Linked DNA regions of Homo sapiens: region 1 is linked to region 2. Evidence: promoter capture Hi-C in 16 types of primary human blood cells and fetal thymus (Javierre and others, 2016). All regions are on one chromosome and are shown on one strand. Each heading gives the region's core, a stretch centred on a gene start or on the middle of the fragment in contact. The rest is flanking DNA. Distances are from core to core; before and after follow the strand shown. Region 1 overlaps PARP11-AS1 (PARP11 antisense RNA 1). Region 2 holds the start of DYRK4 (dual specificity tyrosine phosphorylation regulated kinase 4).

Region 1 (4,066 bases), core at 721-3,220, 670 kb before region 2:
CGTAAACTCCTGCACCTTAGCTCCCTCGTGATCGACAGTCATCCAGAAAGCATATCACCTAAGCCACATCTCCCCCTTTTCCCAAAGCCCTGTCAAAGCTCGTCACTTTGAGTCAAGGAAAGCACTTGCCCTGGGAAGTCCTTCCTGTGAAGCCACCCTTATCCCTGCCATGCCTGAGCCCCAGACCCTCAACCCACCTCAGCCTCCGTCCAGTTACAAATCCCAGGCCAGTCCATCGCCTGGACTCTGGCTTCCCCACCCAGTTTCTCCTCTTCTGCTCTGCCTTGTCACCTCCTTTCCTCCTTGCTCTCCTGCTGCATCGCTCGGGAAGAAAGCCTGCTCCCCGAGAGGCTGGGCAGCAGAGGTACGACCATGCTCTCCTTCTACCTGAGAAAACCCAGGCCCAGGGAAGCCTCGCCCCTTGTCCAGGGTCACATTTCTTGTAAGTATTACATACTAAATATGTAATACATGGGACATGCAGGGACTTGAAGCCATTTCATTCTACTGTGAATAGTAGAATATTATGTTTCAGGGTCTAGACCCGAAGTCATCAGCTCCAAGAGGAGACTCTAAGATTTCTCATGGTGACTAGAAGCCTGTTAGAACACCTCCTAGAGACACACAATTGCATCCAGACTTAGAGGCATGTGGGAAAAGTAAATAAGAAAGGGAATGAGGAAAGTAACACAAGATATCATTTATATGTTCTGCTTCAAATTGTCTTTTCTGAGGGGTTTTTAGGACACAATACATCACACTTCCCTGTCCCTTGTTGTATTCAATCTTTCCAAAAGCTATGGCAGTAATGAAGGGTCTGGAAATGTCCTTCCACCTGCCATGTGAAGCTTCCAGCTGAGCTACAAGGAAAACCTAGACAGACAATCTTGAGAACCACGTGGGTGCACCATCACCTCCAGAGTCTCTTGGCCCTTTCTCTCCGTGATCTCGTCCACTCCATGAGTCCTTCTGATGTCATGCTAGAACTCCCGTAAGATTGTGTGCTTGGTCCTTAGAGCCTCCGTATGTTTTTCTTTCATTCCATAGGAGCACTATTTCAATGGGTATGGCCTCACACCCTCCTCCTGTCTCCATTTCCTTTAATCACATCTTAAGCCCCTGCAATTGGGCATCTGCCCAAACTCCTCTTCTGTACCTGCTCCCTCAATAGCCAGTGACCTTCTTCCCAAATCTGGTGATATTTCCAAGCCTCCCCTCTTCCCAGGCCTCCCTGAAGCAGGTGGCCCAGCTGATGTCTCCTTCCTTCAGGAAATTGTCTACATCTGGTCCTCTCTTGCATGCTCAGTTGTATTCCCTTCTTTAGGGAAGAAAGTAGGCTATGAACTAGCAAAGCAATGCCCTATTTCTGCCTTTGCTGCTTCCTGCTCCACCCTGACACATACTCTCACTCTCTCTCACTCTCTCTCTCTCTCTCCCTCTCTCTCTCTCTCTCTCTCTCTCTCTTTCTCTCTCTCACTGCTCCCTAAGTCCCTGAGTGTCGGTGTCCTGCAAGTCTCACTCCTTGGCCTGCGCTCTCCTCATTCTCAATAGGCTCATCCAGTCTCATGATTTTAGCCTTCAGCCCTGATGGCAACTCCCAGTCTTTGCTCCTAACTGTGACTCTCAGGTGTACTCTGTCTCATGGTTTGTTTATTTATTTATTTATTTATTTATTTATTTTTGAGACAAGGTCTTACTCTGCCCCCAGGCTGGAGTACAGTGGCTCAATCATAGCTCACTACAGTTTGGATCTCCCAGGGTCAGGCGATCCTCCCATCTCAGCCTCCCAAGTAGCTGGTACCACAGGCATGTGCCACCATACCTGGCTAATTTTTTTAATATTTTGTAGAGATGGAGTCTCAAGATGTTGCCCAGGATGGTCTCGAATTCCTAAGCTCAAGCTATCCTCCCACCTCCGCCTCCCAGAATGCTGGGATTATAGGTGTGAGCCACTGCACCTGGCCCTGTCTCATGGTTTAAAGCATTCCTCCACTTGATGTCTTTCGGATTCAGTTACAAGGAGGGATAAATACACTCCTTACCAACCAAAAGCTCCATGAGCCTTTGGACCTGGCCCTTTGAGTTCTATCCTGCCACACCCCATTTTTGGCTTGTTGAGGAGACCAGCTATTGCTATCGGCTTCTGTCAATCGACTTACCAGTCACTCTGTGTCTCGCTTTTATACCATTACCATGGATGAGGTAGCTCTCTTCCTGACAAAGACCACCCTGTCCATGTGCGCCCCAGATCCCACCACTATCCTAGCATTCTCCCCTCTCTTCTGAATCATCAGCTCTCCTCTCTATACGGGATGAATCCCATGAGCCTTCAGACCTGCTCCCATCTTACACATGCACGCACGCACACACACACAGGACACCGCTCTTAACCCCACTTCCTCCCGTTTCTCTCCTTCTCTACACAGCAAAACTCCTCTAAATAGTTGTTCTTGCTCACCATGTCAGACCTCTCTTCTCCCACATCCTCTGTTGGAGTCATTCTAATTAGGACTTCACAGCACCCAGGCCCTCCTACTCTCTCTCCGATGCACAAACCACCAGCGCCAAAACTGTTCTTATCAAGGTCACCAATCATCTCTTCACCATGACATCCTATGGTCATTTCTAAGTCCTCATCATCCTGGACACCTCAGGTAACACATGGCACAGTTGATCTCTCCATTCTTCTGGAATACATTTTCCTCACTTGGCCTCTGAGAAGACTTCCCCCCCAGGTTTTCCTCCAGCTTTCCTGGATACTCCTTTCCAGTTTCCTTGCTGATTCCATCTCAGGTCCCCACCTTGTAATGTTAGAATGCCCAGAGCCCAGTACTCCGATCTCTTCTTTTTTCTAATTCTACTCTCTTCTTTGGTGATCTCATTCGGTCTATGAGTTTTAAACATAATCAATATGGTTTTGATGCCCATGTTTATAATTACACATGCACATGCCCAATTGCCTATTCACAATCTCTATTTGAATGTTTAATCGGTATCCGAATGTATCAAAAAACAGAACTCCTGGTCTGGATGCCAAACCTGCTCCTTCCACAGCCTTTCCCAGCTCGGTTAATGGCCATGGGTCTGGTTGCTCAAGCTTAAACCCTTAGAGCTTCCTCTCACATGTGCTCTCTCTCTTTTGATGCCTCTGCAAATCCTGTTCACTTTACCTTCAAATTATGTGCAGAATAGAACCATGTTCTGCTGTTTCCAAGGCTACTCCCTAGCCCAGCCACTATGTGACAGCCCCCTAACTGCTCTCCCGCTTCTGCCCTAGCTGCCTACATACTATTCTCAACAGAATTCTCAGTGTTATCCTGTTCAACTATAAGCTTGATCATGTCACTTCCCTGCCTCCCAGGATAATAAGAGCAAAAATCAGTATTCAACACGATGTCCTGCAAGTCCCTCCACAGTATGGGCGCTTGTCACCTGTCAGACTCCATGTCTAATGGCTGTCTCTTTTGCATACTCTGCTCCAGCCATCCTGGCCTCTGCTCGCCCTAAAACATGCCGGGCACAGTCCACCTCGGGGTCTATGCACTTGTTCTTCCCTTCACCTGGAATGCTTTTCTTCAAAAAATCCCCATGGCTTGCTTTCTTACTTCCTTCAGGCCTGAATTGAAATTTCACTTTCCCTGTGAAGAGGCCTTGATTACCTTCTTTAAATACCCCCCTCTCCCAGCCTCAAAGTTTCATAACCATCAGTTACCCTGCTTGATTTTTCCCACAGTCTTATTACCAGTTGACCAAAGATATTTACTTACTTGGTTTTTTCACTTGTCTATCTCTCCTTACTGAAATGTAAGTTCCATGATGGCAGGGATTTTTGTCTGTCTGGTTCAATTCTGAATTCTCATTGCCTAAACTGTGTCCGACATGTAGTGTGTGCATAATAAATACATATTCACAGAGTGACTGAATGAATGGATGGATCTCTCCCTTCAAAATGATATTCAGATTCCCTCTATAGTCTTCATTCTAACTACCAGCCCCCATTCTGGACTTACCCCTTGAGGTCTGTGTTTCTGTGATGTTCTATGCACTGGGTATCCCTCTAACACCA
Region 2 (4,132 bases), core at 1,085-3,584:
ATATTTACATTGAGAATTTCAACTAGCTTCTGATCAATTTTTAATAAAAAATTTTCAAATCATGTTAGCTGTTAAAAAATGTATAATAACTCAGTTTTTCTTGGTTTATGGAAATATCTATATTAATGTGAAAATAATTAATTTAGAATTGTGATTAAAGTGAGCATTTGTCTATTGCTGTTGTACACTTCTTTTATCTAACGTATATTTTTATAGTGTCATATACCAGCCCCCTAACCTGCCCCACCTGTCCCCTTTTTAAAAACATATTTTCCAGTTACATAGCACTGAGGTACTCTATTTGGTGTAGATCAACAATAAACATAAGAGCCTACTGTATATTAGGTACTGATATAATTGATTAATCATCTGGCACCAGCTCAATAACCTGTTTTTGCCGTGTTCTTTATAGTTTATCAGGGGATTTGAAAATTACCTCAAAGTATGTTAAAACCAGCCTGGCTGAAAGCACTGATACCTTTATGTTGCCAAACCCAGTGTACAATTTTCTCACCTAATCTTATACACCCTATTCATTATACTCTGATGAAAACATTTGATTTCCTTGGCTCATGTGACACATTTCTTTGTCATTTCTTCCCATCTCCATGCCTACTCTTCATTATTTTGCAGCTTTCTAATCTGTTGTGTCACCTTTACCTACTTGTCTTACCAGTTTCATGTTCTATGCAAACTCCAGGGGTCACTTATGTGACAGTGACTGCCAAGTCAGGGTCTGTACCCTATACCATGCTCTTGACAACAGAACCTGTGGATGGTCCACTGACAATTTGATGTAGCAGATCAGTTGTTAAATTCAACGTCTCCTCCTACCCCTGACATCTCTCCTGTGTTTTCTGTTGGTAAATGAATGGCACCACCATCACTGCAGGTGCCAAAGGTGTCATCCTGGGATTGAGTCTTCTCTCGACTTTCACATCCAGTCACCAAGTCTTACTCCATTTCCTAAATTTCTCAAAACTACTCTTCCATGTGCTCTCCCTTACTCTGAAACATCATCACTCACTATTTCTAACAGGCATCCTTGCCTTGATTCTTAACCTACTCGGGCCTACTTCCATTGTTATTGCCACAGAGGGTTTTATAAAATAAAGTCAGCATGAACACCCCTCTGCAGTCTGCACATACACACCTTACCCTGGTCGAGTTCATAGCCTACTTGGTGTCTGACTCCCCCTTTCCTGCTGCTTCAACCTTGTCTCTGCCCACGTGCAACTTTGATCCCTGCCCCACTAAACTGGGTGCTGGCACAATGGTACCAAGCTTTTCTATGGCTCTGGCCTTCAGAATAGGACTTGCCTCCTTTACGTAGACAACTACTGCCTGTCCTTGAAGACTCAGATTCAACTCAGCTCTTTCAGAAAGCTTCATTTGAATGTCTTTTCTGCCTGGACCAGACTGTGCACCTCCAGGTCAACCTACTGCCACTCAATTACAAATTTCCCTTTTCATGCTTTCTACAATCTGGTGCAGAGTAAGCACTCAAAAAGTGTTCAGCTGATATATGGATTTTACCCAGAACTTTTGCTATGTACTTACTTTTTTTCTTTTTCTTTTTCTTTTTTTCTTTTTTTTTTTTTTTTTTGAGATGCAGTCTCGTTCTGTCGCCAGGCTGGAGTGCAGTGGCGCGATCTCGGCTCACTGCAACCTCCGCCTCCCGGGTTCCAGCGATTCTCCTGCCTCAGCCTCCCAAGTAGCTGGGACTACAGGCACGCACCACCACGCCCCGCTTATTTTTGTATTTTTAGTAGAGACGGGGTTTCACCATGTTGGCCAGGATGGTCTTGATCTCTTGGCCTCGTGATCCACCCGCCTTGGCCTCTCAAAGTGCTGGGATTACAGAAAAAAATGTCTAAATAGAGACAGGGGCGGGGGGGTCTCACTACTTTGAGCAGTTTGGTCTCGAACTCCAGACCTCAAGTGGTCTGCCTAGGCCTCCCAAAGTGCTGGGATTGCAGGTGTAAAACCACCGCGCCCGGCCAGAACTTCTGTGATGTAATTCTGATAACCACATGCTTCGCTTGAAGAAGGGGAGAGAGTAGGGATAATTTCATGTGTCCGGTCTGGGCAACCAACTTTAAGTTCTTTATGCTGGGATTTTGTTCAATTCTTGCCCTATACTTTAAAGAACTGGGGCAAGAGAATGCGAGTAGGAGGACGAGGAGTATGTTCTTCAGGCTGCTACTCTGCAAGGTGGTTTGGGACCACAGCCTGAGAAAGCCCTTCCAGCTCTGGAGTCATAAAAAGGGCGGGAGCCGTTTCTATAGCGACGGGAGGAGGGCGTGGCCGTCCCTTGCCCTCTGCCGGGCTCTCACAGCCTCCCGCAGCGGCGGGCGGTCAGCGCCGGCCTCATGCAGCTCCTCCCGCCGCCTATCCGCACCGGAACAAAGTAAGGGCCGCGGAGGCTCGTACTTCACGAGCAGTCAGGCGCGAGTACGAGGCAGGCGACGAAGCTTCTGGTCGACGGGGTCGTGGGGGGAGAATGAAAAGCGTGCAGAATGCAAGAGCTGACCGGGGAATGTGGGTCAGAGAGAGGCGGGCTGTGGTGCGCGGACAAGAAAATACAGTTGTAGTTTTTGCAGCAGCTGCATCCCCGGAATCCGACGTCAGTATACTTCCATGTTAAGATGCTGTCGCATCGGCGACTCCAGCTGAGTGCAGGACAGGGAGCGAGGGGTTCTGAGGAACTCAGCAGACCTATCCTGGAACTGTGCTTCCAGCCCTCACTGGGACGCCAGACTTTCTTCCTCCCTTTCTTTCTCTTCTTTACTGCATGTCCTCTTGGTAGTCGTAAGTGGGTCCACGACCACACGCCTCGCGTGGATGAGGCTCTGGCAGGCATTACTCATGTTCCCACCCAGCCCATATGCCCGGGCACCTCTGTGCTCAACCAGGGCCCAGCCCCTGACACAAAAGCGCGCGAAGGTGTGTGTAGATCACACACCCAGAGCTGCCACTCAGGAAATTCCCAATATTAGCAAATCTTTCCTTAAAAAAGAGATGAACAATGCACAATTTGAGGGTTTTTAAAGGCTATTCTGTGACATTTGCTGCATTTGAAATGTCCAGCAGCCCCTCAAAGCTTAGGAAAACCGTGACCCCTCTGACATGTCTTAAGCAACGGACAGCATCACCAATATTAATTCAAGCTTCACTGTCCAGGCTTAAGTGGAGACTCGGCAAAAGCAGGAGGCCATTTAGTGGAAAAGTTCAAACCGTGGAAACAACAAATGAAAATGTCCTTTGTCTTGCTTGAGCGATTTGATCACCTACATGTGGTCGGTATGTAAAACCTAGGAGTTCGAAGAAATTCTTCAAACATGCACTCTACCTTATTGTTTCTGTTACTTAAATCTGTTGTTTCTCTTGTTTGTTTTGGTCCTTATGGAGAAAGCAGAGGTAAATCGGAAGGGACTCTCTAGCAATATGCCAGCCACTCTTCCCTGACTTTGCCCTCTCCAACTCCACATATTGTTGCCTGCAACTTGGCTAGAATGCATAGTCCTCAAGCGTGTGGAGGACCCAGTGCTGGGATTTAGTGGTTTTAGCTGACTCTAAGCCCATCGTGAGTGTGTTGTGATGGCTCCCCAAAGAGCAAATGCTGGTGGAGGCTGCATTCATAGAAATGCAATGACCACATCAAAGAATATGGTCGTGCTGCCTGACTTAGCAATGAGTAGAACATAATCCAGACTCTAGAAACTGTAGCTACTTTGAGATCACAAAGAACTGGAAAATAGGAACAACCACAAGGCAGGCTCTCTCTGTCAGGCCTGGGTGTGCCATCACATGAAGAGAGGTTTGAAAAAACTTCACAGAATGCCTGGAGATGAGGAGATGCAAGGGAGAGAAAGCTTTTTTCTACTCAACTTTTGAACATTCAAGAACTCTTGAGTAGAAAAGAGATAGATTTGTTCCTTGGTACTCTGCAGAGGATAGCAAGGATCAGTGGAGGAAATTTTGCTCAATATAGTTTATTCTTCCAAGAAATATCAAGTACCAACCCTATGTAAATTAACAGTTGAGTGTGAAATGGGTTGCCTAGAAAAACAGTGCACTCTGTCATAGAAATATTCCAGCATAGACAGAGTGATTGCCAGGAATACCATAG

Evidence for each region. Contacts are between HindIII fragments. The CHiCAGO score rates a contact against its expected background, and 5 or more counts as called.
Region 1: a fragment that was not itself captured here is called in contact with the fragment with the promoter of DYRK4 in region 2 in 1 of 17 cell types (M0 macrophages); the score reaches 5.0 in M0 macrophages.

Annotation. Positions count from the first base shown.
Region 1 is chr12:3,891,423-3,895,488 of GRCh38, forward strand. All of the region lies in intron 1 of PARP11-AS1 (PARP11 antisense RNA 1), which reads left to right. Among named protein-coding and RNA genes, the nearest start is that of PARP11, 20 kb to the left of the region's middle. The HindIII fragment of the contact is 2,249 bases long and covers 847-3,095 here.
Region 2 is chr12:4,559,874-4,564,005 of GRCh38, forward strand. It overlaps DYRK4 (dual specificity tyrosine phosphorylation regulated kinase 4), which reads left to right and starts at 2,335. Exons shown (of 15, transcript NM_001394779.1): 1 at 2,335-2,410. The coding sequence starts at 2,373. RAD51AP1 (RAD51 associated protein 1) reads left to right here. Exons shown (of 9, transcript NM_006479.5): 9 at 1-174. RefSeq lists a silencer at 2,170-2,464. The HindIII fragment of the contact is 1,088 bases long and covers 1,385-2,472 here.